2 separate regions of the Homo sapiens genome follow, and region 1 is linked to region 2. The links are contacts of gene promoters, found by promoter capture Hi-C in blood cells and fetal thymus (Javierre and others, 2016). All regions are on one chromosome and are shown on one strand. The core of a region is centred on a gene start or on the middle of the fragment in contact, and the rest is flanking DNA. Distances in the headings are between cores, read along the strand shown.

What was found. The method cuts DNA at HindIII sites, captures the fragments that hold promoters and counts their contacts. A CHiCAGO score of 5 or more calls a contact.
Region 1: a contact is called between the fragment with the promoter of LIMA1 here and the fragment with the promoter of TMPRSS12 in region 2, in 4 of 17 cell types (M2 macrophages, neutrophils, erythroblasts and 1 more). The highest score is 7.5, in M2 macrophages.

Annotation. Positions count from the first base shown.
Region 1 is chr12:50,281,112-50,286,725 of GRCh38, reverse strand. It overlaps LIMA1 (LIM domain and actin binding 1), which reads left to right and starts at 3,206. Exons shown (of 11, transcript NM_016357.5): 1 at 3,206-3,306. LOC107984505 (a long non-coding RNA gene) reads right to left here and starts at 3,105. Exons shown (of 2, transcript XR_001749144.2): 1 at 2,844-3,105. RefSeq lists a silencer at 2,986-3,295. The HindIII fragment of the contact is 1,384 bases long and covers 2,531-3,914 here.
Region 2 is chr12:50,840,721-50,846,123 of GRCh38, reverse strand. TMPRSS12 (transmembrane serine protease 12) reads right to left here and starts at 3,198. Exons shown (of 5, transcript NM_182559.3): 1 at 2,973-3,198; 2 at 2,087-2,282. The coding sequence starts at 3,159. It also overlaps the pseudogene RN7SL519P. The HindIII fragment of the contact is 6,106 bases long and covers 1-5,403 here.

The sequences.
Region 1 (5,614 bases), core at 1,957-4,456, 560 kb after region 2:
GCTGGGACTACAGGCGCACACTACTACACCTGGCTAATTTTTGTATTTTTAGTAGAGATGGGATTTCACCATGTTGTCCAGGCTGGTCTCGAACTTCTGACCTCGTGATCCGCCCACTTGTGATCTGCCCACCTCAGCCTCCCAAAGTGCTGGGATTATAGGCGTGAGCCACCGTGCCCAGCTGACACCAATTCTTTTAAAGCAACAAATATCTTTACCAGTACAGAAGCTTATTCAACTGTGTACTGGAGATAAATCTCTAGGTAATTTTCTTCCAATATGTAGATGTCTCATCAATTATAGTGCATATTTGCCATTCTCTTCCAAGATTCTTAAATATGTTGACATAATTTCTTTTGCAGTATGTTCTGCTATTCTTGTTGCACCGTATCATGTATGTAAACATTTGCCTGTATCTACTCCATTTTTCCCTTTCAACTCTATTGTTCCCTTCACTATCAGATAAAGGCCTATGAGTTTTTTGTTTGAGACAGGGTCTTGTTCTGTCGCCCAGGCTGGAGTGCAGTGGTGTGATCTCGGCTCATTACAATCTCCAACTCCTGGGCTCAAGGCATCCTCCCACTTCACACTCCCAGGTAACTGGGATTACAGGCACACACCACCACACCCAGCTTTTTTGTCTGTTTATTTTATTTGTTTGTAAAGACAGGGTTTTGCCATGTTGGCCAGGCTAGTCTCTAACTCCTGGCCTCAAGTGATCCCTGCCTGGGCCTCCCAAAGTGCTGGGATTACAGGTGTGAGCCACTGCACCTGGCCCATGCCCATTCTTTAAGTATTGTCTATGGCTACTTTGGCACATTTGGCACTACAGTGAGAGCTGAGTAGCTGTGACAGAGACTATAAGTCCCACAAAGCCTAAAATATTTACTATTTGGCTGTTTACACAAAAGGTTTGCTAACATATGGTCTAGAAAAATCAACAAAACAATAAATCACGCCCTGACTTGCTGCATTTGCCCATTTCCATGGTGTAAATACTCCCCTTACAGCCAATTTCGTGCTACCAATGTGACATTTCTGAATAGAGTTGGGAAGAGATGCATACAACATATGTAGTATTTCCACAGGGAATACAATGGACAAATAACCTCAAGAGCAGAATTATTAGTAAAATGAAGAAAAAAACTACAAAGTGATGAGTTTTTAATATTTATTATATTTAAAAATTTTTTTTTAGAAATAGGGTCTCACTCTGTTGCCCAGGCTGGAGTGCAGTGGTGTGATCATAGCTCACTGCAACATCAAACTTCTAGCCTCAAGCCATCTTCCCGCCTTAGCCTCCCAAAGCACTGGGATTACAAATGTGACTCAACATGCCTGGCCTATTACTTTTATTTTTAAGATAATTTAATTGTAGCTTATATAATTTGATTTCTAATAATGGTTGTGCTTATGACCTGGCTCATAAAATCCCTGAAAATTTAGCAATCAACCTAATGCTAGCTCTATCTTCAAAAGGAGGCTTTGGGAAAGCAAGTAATTTTTGTATCCACTAAAGCACAGAGCTAAAAAAAATTGGGGGGAGGGGAGACATCTATTGAGGGAACGCCACATGCAGGGTAACGTATTTTCTGGAGTACTATCCTGTATTGATATTGTATGCTCTTTAGCATTCCCATGCTGTCTGCCACTTTTGCTGGAGTCTTGATACTTGATACTGTTAATGCAAAATAAGTAGCAGGCCATTAGTTTGGAGTTGTTTTTGTACCCAGAAAGCAACCCAAAATTTAGAGGTATTCCTTGCACCTTTTGTTTGTTTTGTTTTTTTGAGATGGAGTCTCGTTCTCTCATCCAGGCTGGAGTGCAGTGGCGAGATCTCTGCTCACTGCAATCTCCACTTCCCGGGTTCAAGTCATTCTCGTGCCTCAGCCTCCCGAGTAGCTGGGATTACAGGCACTTACCACCACGTCCGGCTAATTTTTGTATTTTTAGTGGAGACGGTGCTTCGCCATGTTGGCTAGGCTGGTCTCGAACTCCTAACCTCAGGGGATCCGCCTGCCTCAGCCTCCCAAAGTGCTGGGATTACAGGTGTGAGCCACCGCGCCCGGCCCCTTGTACCTGATTTTGAATGGAGTTTCAACCAATCACAAACAGACAACCAGCCAAGTGGTTATATAATTAGGGACCTCCCATGTGACCATACCCAAATAAGGCAAACGCTTAGCTGTAGCCAATCAAATTTCTTTACTTTCGTGTTCAGCCTATAAAGTTTGATGCCTGGGCAGCTAGAGCAGGGGTGTCTGAGCCTCTTTTGGTTCTGACTGTTGTCCGATTCAAAATCTAAGTTTGTTTTGTCTGAAATTTTTATTTCTACAATACCTATCCAGAAATCAGTCTAGGCTGGATATTTGAAGGAAGAAGGGAATAACTGGCTGGCATATTCATCACCTGTTGGAAATCTCTCTTCTCACACATTTTCATTAACTTCTTGAGGAAGTGTAATTACAAGCGTTTTCCCACGAGCAGCCCCTACTAATAACGCATCAAGCTGCATGAATTCCGAAAAGCTTCAGAAAACTTGTGGTCTGAAACCCTACTATGCTTGAGGTACAGGAAAGAAGGATACTATCAAAAGGCATCATGCAGCTGGCACGGAACTGGGACAAGAATTTGGGGGCAGGATGGCCAAGTGCTAGGCCAATTGACGGTCTCCAAACCATTAGCACAGCTCCTATTCTGAATGGAGGAGTAAAAACAGCTGTTGGAGAACTTGGACGTCATCTGCCCTTGTCAAACCGTTTTCAGGATTAATGTACTTAATTCAGCTTTTTCCACTACACCACACAGCCTCCTGTAAAACACCCTCCCTGCACACAACTTACCCCCAAAGCACCAGGAACCTAGCTGGCTAGAGTTGAGCTTAGGAAAAACCTGAGTGGCTCCAGAGTCAAACTGCGATAACGTTGAGTCAGAGGAGTTAAGGACAAAGTAGAGCTGCACAGAGGCCCACGTCGTGCAAGTGCGTGTCTCCTTCAGAGAAAAGCGTGCCGAGGTAGACTAGGCCCCGGGCAGCAAAAACCCTGTCCCGTCGCCAGCGCCCCGCACCGCCAGAGCGACTGGAGCAGACGCGAGCGCTGGGCACGTAGCCGGTGGCGCGCACGCTCAGCCCGAGGCCGCACGGGAGGCTGTCTGGCGTGCGCGCCCCCGCGGCGGTGGGCGGGGTCCGGGGCGGGGCCGCAGGAGCAGTAGGTGTTAGCAGCTTGGTCGCGACAGGTGCGCTAGGTAGAGCGCCGGGACCTGTGACAGGGCTGGTAGCAGCGCAGAGGAAAGGCGGCTTTTAGCCAGGTAAGGGCCTTCTCTCTCCACAACCGGAGAGTGCGGGAAGACCCCGGCTTCTCTCCACACCCTCTTTCTCCTTCGACTTTTGGGGCGGGGGGAGTGCAAGGAGTGTGAGTCCCTCCCCCTCGAGATAAGGGGTCGAGGGACGCTGATCCTCCGTTCTTTCCTCACTTCTGGGGCCTGCGCTGGGTGGGGAGTGCTTATGTCGGGCTGAGCCTTTGCTGCCCAAGGGCGGGAGCTGCAAATACCCCGTCCTCTCCCACCGAGAACACTGCATTCTAACTGTATACTTTCTGGTGTGGTGGAGGAAGGTGACAATTCATTAAAACTCCAAATACCCTCCTTCCAGGGAAATACTGTAATATTCAACTGTTCTTTTTCCTTCATTTTCAGCCATTCCCTCTCTTTTCGATTTTTTCTCCCTTCCATTACGCCAGCTGAACTCTGTTTAAGACACTTACACCCTTTTGAGGAATGTTGAGAATATAGCAGTCCTTGCAGCCGATGTGTCATCCCCGAATCGCTATCGTGTATATATCGCTGGCACTTGCCCCCGACATATGTTGGTGTTAATGTAAGGTAATTGTACACCCCTGGCTACACATACTAAAGCTTGAAGTTGTAGCTGCTAGGAACGAACCATCTGGCACCCTTCCTAGCCTCCTTACTGATGCTTGCAAGAACGGTTTAGCTGATCCTGGTGAGAGATATTTGAACTACTATTGTCTTGCACCTAATTCCAGCTTTCAAAAGTCTGCCTTGGACGGGCGCAGTGGCTCACGCCTATAATCCCAACACTTTGGGAAACTGAGGCGGGAGGATCGCTTGAGCCCAGGTGTTTGAGACCAGCCAAGGCAACTTAGCGAGACCCTTGTCTCTACAAAAAAATAAATAAATAAATAAAAATAAAAGATAAGTCTGCCTAATCCAGATCTGCCTAATCCAGATGGTTCAATTGACTTGACTTTTCAGGTTAGTCAAAGGTAATTAGGGAGTTATCAGTTTTTAAGGCAATGCCCATTTTGGGGAGAGGTTTTCTTTTGCATTAAGTATTCTTTCTTTTGCTCTTGATTTAAATGGTTTAACACAGTACCTTTTATCTGCTTGGTTACCAATACTATTCACAAATGCTAAATATTTCAGGAGCCATGAAATAACACCAATCCTTTCTTCTGAGGTATGATGTAGACACAAAAGAACATGACCCCTAACAACATGTTCTAAGTTCCTGTAGAGGTATAACCTGGGTGCAGGATGATCACGTTTTAGATAGATCTTCAAAAAATTATAGAGTTGGCGTGAAAGAAGGCAAAAAAAAGTGTGTGTTCATATATGTTTTCTTGTTTTGCATTGATAGAACAACATATAATGTACTAGGTAATTAGTTTAGGAACTTATTTCATTCTTTGGACAAAATATTGAGTGCCTTTCATGTCAGTCCTACTGTAGATTCAAAGTGCCAAACGTCTTTACCCTAAAAGAACTTAAAATCAAATGGGTTAGACAGATCCACATACAATTTATGGTATTAGTGAGGTCATTTCTATACTAGAGGTCAGCCCAGGGTACTGTAGGAGCATAGGGAATATAGGTGTTTTGTTTTGTTTTTTAATTCTCTCTTCTGCTTTTCCTTAAAAACAAAAACCTCTGAGTAATAATGAGTGATTCTCTTCAATCTATGTATTTGTATCACTTTCATATTTCTTACCCTCTCTTCCTCCAATTCTATGGCCTATGGAAAATGGGATTAGACCCTGTTGTTAATGTGGCATTTAGTAAATAGTTGGATCTGTTTCCACTGTTCTGTATTGGGCTGGGAAGTGTTGTTATCAGGTAGTCCCTGGGAAGAGAACAGTATATTGGCAACATTAGCAAAGGAGTGCCATTTTGTAAAAATTACCTCATTGTATAACTTTCTTTAACTTGGTACACTCAAGCTTTGTTCCAGACTCTGGTTAAAGGTGGGGCTAAATTTCAACCTAATAATTCTAAAAGAAAGCTTCAGAAGCTAAAACAATTCACATCTTGGTGACAGGGGATACTTTTTCCTGCTAAGATGCCCTCAAAATGTTTTTCTCTTTCTTTTTTTCTTGGGTGGGGAAGACAGGGTAGATAGGTGGGTGGGGAAAAATGTTTTTAAGTATAATTTTGACTAGTGTTTCTTCAGGTTTCAAATTCTTATATTTTCTCTGGTATTTTTCACCAGTTAACTGCAATTAACTTAGAGCCCTCGTACCAAAAAAATTTATCAAAGACACACACACAGACACAAAAGAATATTGAGAGTGTGGGAGTTCATTAGACATCTTTGGCA
Region 2 (5,403 bases), core at 1,949-4,448:
TTGTGTATCAAAGGACAATATCGAGAGTGAAAAGATGACCCACAGAATGGGAGAAAATATTTGCAAATAATGTGTCTGACAACAGATTAATATCCAGAATACATAAAGAACTCCTACAACTCAACAACAAAAAAGCAAAGAGCCCAGTTCAAAAATGGACAAAGGACTTGAATAGACATTCCTCCAAAGAAGATATACAAATGGCCAATAAGCACATAGAAAGATGCCTAACATCACTAGTAATTTGGGAAATGGAAATAAAAGCCACAATGAGCTACCATTTCATATTAATTAGGATAGTTATTATCAAAGTAGTAGTGTAAATATAAGTATGATAAGTCATAAGCTAGGAATATAGAGACTGATATTCTGGATGTACTTTTAATCAGTAGGGAGGGTGGAGGGACAGAAGAAGCAAATGTAAGATACTGCACAGAGAGCCTTCACAGGCCTTGGAGACTACTTGGATAGCTGAAGTGGGAGAAATTAGATAACTCTCTGGGTAATGGAGCTGTTGATGATGCTATCAACTGAGAAAATAGAGAAGAAATAGTATCAGAGGAAAGTAAATTCCATTTTGGACTTATTTAAAATGTGACTCCAATAAAGCTGGAAATATGACTCATCAGGAGAGACCTAGGAGTTGACAGCACATGGTGATTGCTGAAACAGAGGTAGATTAGACATCTCTAGGAAAGAGTACAGAATGACAGAGGGCAGAGGGCAAACTCTAGAAAACACTGCAATGTAAAGGATGACAAAGACTCATCAAAGAAGCAGGAGAAAAAAGTAGAGAATGGTGTCTTAGAAATCAAGAAAAGAGATAATTTCAAGAAGAGAATGTGGTCAACATTGCCAAAGGCTGTAGAGGTCAAAAAGGATGGGAACTGAGATGAAGTCATTGGATTTGGCATGGAAGTGGATCTTTAACAGCATTTGGCCACAAAAATCAGACTGCAGTTGGATTTTATGGGTCAATGGAGATGAAGCAAAGAGAGTCTCTTTTTCAAAGAGTCTAATAGTGAAGGCCAAATCTGGCATGTCTCTTGTTTTCATACAGTCCATAAAGCATGTTTTTTACATTAACAATTTTTTTAAATATAGAGACAGGGTCTCGCTATATTTCCCAGGCTGGTCTCAAACTCCTGGCCTCAAGTGATCCTCCCGTCTTGGCTTCCCAAAGCATTGGGATAACAAATATGAGCCAACATGCCCTACTCTACATTTTTAAATGGCTGAATCAACCACAATATTTCATGACACGTTAAACATATGAAATTCAGATTTCAGTGTTCATAAAGTTTTATTGGATTATAGCCACACTCATTCAATTACTTATTTTCAGTGCTGGTTTTCATGCAATTGTGAGAGAGACCATATGACCTTCAAAGTGTAAAATATTTACTACCTTTATAGGAAGTTTACCAGCCTCTAATTTAAAAGATCCATGATCGAGCATGGTGGCTTACACCTGTAATCCCAGAACTTTGGGAGGCTGAGGCGGGCAGATCACGTGAGGTTAAGAGTTCAAGACCAGCCTGGCCAACATGGTGAAACCCCCTTTTCTACTAAAAATACAAAAATTAGCTGGACATGATGGCAGGCATCTGTAATTCCAGCTACTCCGGGGGCTGAGGCAGAAGAATCGCATGAACCCAGGAGGCGGAGGTTGCAGTGAGCCAAGATTGCACCACTGCACTCCAGCCTGGGTAACAGAGTGACACTCCATTTCAAAAAAAAAAAAGTAAAAAATAAAGGATTCCTGGGTAGGGGGCTAGGGGAGGGATAGCATTAAGAGAAATACCTAATGTAGTTAGATGATGGGTTGATGGGTGCAGCAAACCACCATGGACATGTATACCTATGTAACAAACCTGCACGTTCTGCACATGTACCCCAGAACTTAAAGTATAATAATAATAATAATAAATAAAGGATTCCTTTCAACAAATACACTGTACTATATATAAGGCATTATGGCTATTTGCAAACATAGCTTAGCTGAAAATGGCTGAAGTTAAATGGTCCTCTATCACTTCAAAATATCCCCTAAGAGCATAAAAATAGTTGTGTTCTGAATACGTACCTAGCGTCTTTAGTGCAGTGGGCAGCTGTGAGGACCCACCTCTCTCTCACTAGGGTTCCCCCACATACATGAACAAGAACACGGCCATATTTAATCTGCAGGCTCACCACCCACGGCCATGCGCCAGCTTGTGCTTCGGTGCCCCCTATAATCCGAGACCCTTGCAACACATCCTTAAGCGGTGCTGTTCCACAATCTAAAAATAAAAATGATATATTATTTGGACTGAGCATCTATAGTATGTGTTACTTCCTAAGCTGAACATATTAATGCAATCCTTTAAATTCCTATGTTAAAAACACAAAGCAAGCTAACATACCGGAGACACGCCCATATTTTGAAAGAAACTTGGAGAGTTAAGACAAATATGCCATAATCGATTACTTACAAATAGACATGAAGTCAACACAATTCATTAATTTTAAAACTCTATTCCCCAAAAATATAAAAATAAAAATTTTTGGCCACGTATCACATTCTTCCCTGTGTGAAATAGCAGTTAAAGAGCCTGGGAACGGTGAGTCGAGAGCCGCAAATTCTAATGCTCACCATTTCACTTGTTGGGCTAATTTTTCTCAACTATAGTATGAAATGGTCACCTAATAGCCCTCCCTTTCAACTCTTTATCCCCTGACTTATTAATCTATAAAATGGGGATGATAAAACCCAGAATGTTTTGAGGAGAAAATACAGATTCACAATACAAATGTGTCATTTCACTATTACAACTACTGTTATTACAGCCGGTCTAGAAACTGCTTAGGTATGTAAAATTTTGGTTAAAGGCCATTGGGACAACAGAAAAGGAGAAACCCGAATTCAAAGACTATAGCGGTGGGGAAAAGGTAAGAGAGGCTCCCCAGAGACAGGCACGAACAGGTACTGCCCTCTGCATGCGCCCCTCCCTCCCTCCGCCGCCGGAGCCTCTTGCGGACGGCCTCAGCCTGCTGGGAACTAGCCGCCGGTTCCGGCGAGGGGCCGAGCCTGTGCCTTCCAGAGGGCGAGTAGTGGTCTGAGTATAAGTGAGAGCTCCCCACAAACAACAGCGCCACGCTCAGGAGCCCCAGCCGCATTTTGGAGGCTGGTGAGCAAGATGGCGGCAGGTACTTCCCACCCGCCCTGGGCACGCGGGGCGCACGGCCTGGCGGGGAGGCGCGAGTGAGGCCCGGAGGTGTGGGAGGCGGCCGAGGAATAGGTAGGTCAGTTTAGAAAGAACCCCTCACCCTCAAGGTCTGATCGGCTTCCTCATCCACCACTATCCCCCAGGTGATGTCTGATCACCCTGGCCTGTCCAGCAAGAATCCTGTTAGGTCGGTTAGCCGGAATGCCATTACTCCTGATGCTACCTCTTAGTAATTTTCCATCCACTGACACGTCTCTCCTGCTCCGTGGCTGTAAATTCTCCCTTGGCTCTGCTCTGTTTGGATTTTAGCCCAGTCCCTCTACCCATTACAAAATCCCATTGCCATGGTCCCTATCCCTATCTGGATGGTCCTGAATAAAGTCTGCCTTGCTGTGCTTTAATGAGTATCACTGAATAATTTTTCTTTAACATAACCCAGAGTTTTTAAGAGTGATACCTAATGTTCAGTTTTAAATTGTTCTGTCATTCCTATCTTGACCTATACTGAACTTTGCCTTTGTTAACCCAACACCTTCAGTAATAAGAAGACCGTGTGGGCTGTGGGAAGTTGGTGAGGTGGTGGAGAGTTAACGTAGAGGTCAATAAAAGGACAGTTGCCTTGCTCATACCATCCTTCCGAGGCTGGTGCAGTTGGCAGCATTAGATAAAAGGAGTATATGAGTTTGGGGCTTACACATGGTAACATGTGGGGAAGGGAGCAGAGTCTCAGAGCTGTGCCGAAATTGGGGTGGAGGAGGTGATATTGGAGAAACAAATTGCAGCATGAGCTGATCTCTGAGGGCTGACAAGAAACAAAGTCCTTATTCCCCAGATATTTTAGTGGAAGGTGATATTAGGAGGAGAAAAACACAGTTGGGGTGTGTGTATTTCTGTGTGTGTGAGATGTGGTCAGATTGTGTATGCCTTTGTAAACAAGGCAAGATGACTTTTTTTTTCTTTTTTTAAACCCATAGCCAACGTGATAAGGATGACGGGTCTTGCTATGACAGATAGTAGAGGTTTAACATACTCATAAAGCAAGTATATGCAGCCAAGTCATCAAATAGCAGTGACACAGGCAGTGGGCTGGGCACGGTGGCACATGCCTGTAGTTCTATTATACAGCACTGCTTTAAACAATATATTTTTTAGTTTTACTACTCAGGAGGCTGAGGCAGGAGGATTGCTTGAGCCCAGGAGTTCTGGACTGTAGTATGCTATGTCAACTGGTCAACTAAGTTTGGCATCAATATGGTGACCTTCGGGTAGTGGGGAACCACCAGGTTGCCTAAGGAGGGGTAACTGGCCCAGACTGGAAATGGAGTTGATCAAAATTCCTGTGTTGATTGGTAGTGAGATCATGCCTGTGAATAGCCACAGTACTCCAGCCTGGGCAACAAAGCAAGACCCCATCTCTCCAAATAAAATGAAAAAGGCAGTGGATCAATAACTGCAGAGGTCTTCTTCCTGGATTTCCTCTGCCTTTTCTCCTCTCCTGCATTGTCATTTCCTGTCTTTGGTGGGATCACTCCTATCTGCAGACAAATATCCTCTGGTATGGTAGGTAGCCTACAAAATGCCCGCCAATGAACCCTGTCTCCTGGTATTCACAGCCTTAGTCAGTTCCCTCTCCTTTAGTGTTGGCTGGATTTCGTGACTCACTTCTAGTAAATAGAAAGTAGAGGTGATGGGCTACCACTTTCAAGATTAGGTTATAAAAAGATTGTGACTTCTGTCCTGAGCACTCTCTGCAGTCCTGTTGCTCTAAGGTAAAGCTGCTGCCATGTTGTAAGCTGCCCTGTGGCCCTGTAGAGAGGCTGCCAGCAAGAGCCATTGAGGAACTGAAGTCCTCAGTTGAACAGCCACGAAAAGCTGAATCATGCAACACCGCATGATCTGCTTAGAGGCAGATCTTCCCCGATCACACCTTCAGATGAGACCACAGTGCTGGCTGACACCCTAACTGCAACCTCATGAGAGACCTTAAGTCAGAGACACCCAGCCAAACTACACTTAAAAGTTCTGACCCACAGAAAATACGAGATAAATTTTTGTTGTTCTAAGCTACTGCATTTTGGGATAATTTGTTACGCAGCAACAGATAATACATCTGGTTTCTCCCACCTTAGAAAAATCTTCAATTGACTTTATATCCCCTACTTTCCTCTATAGCAAAATTTCACCCAAGAAGTTG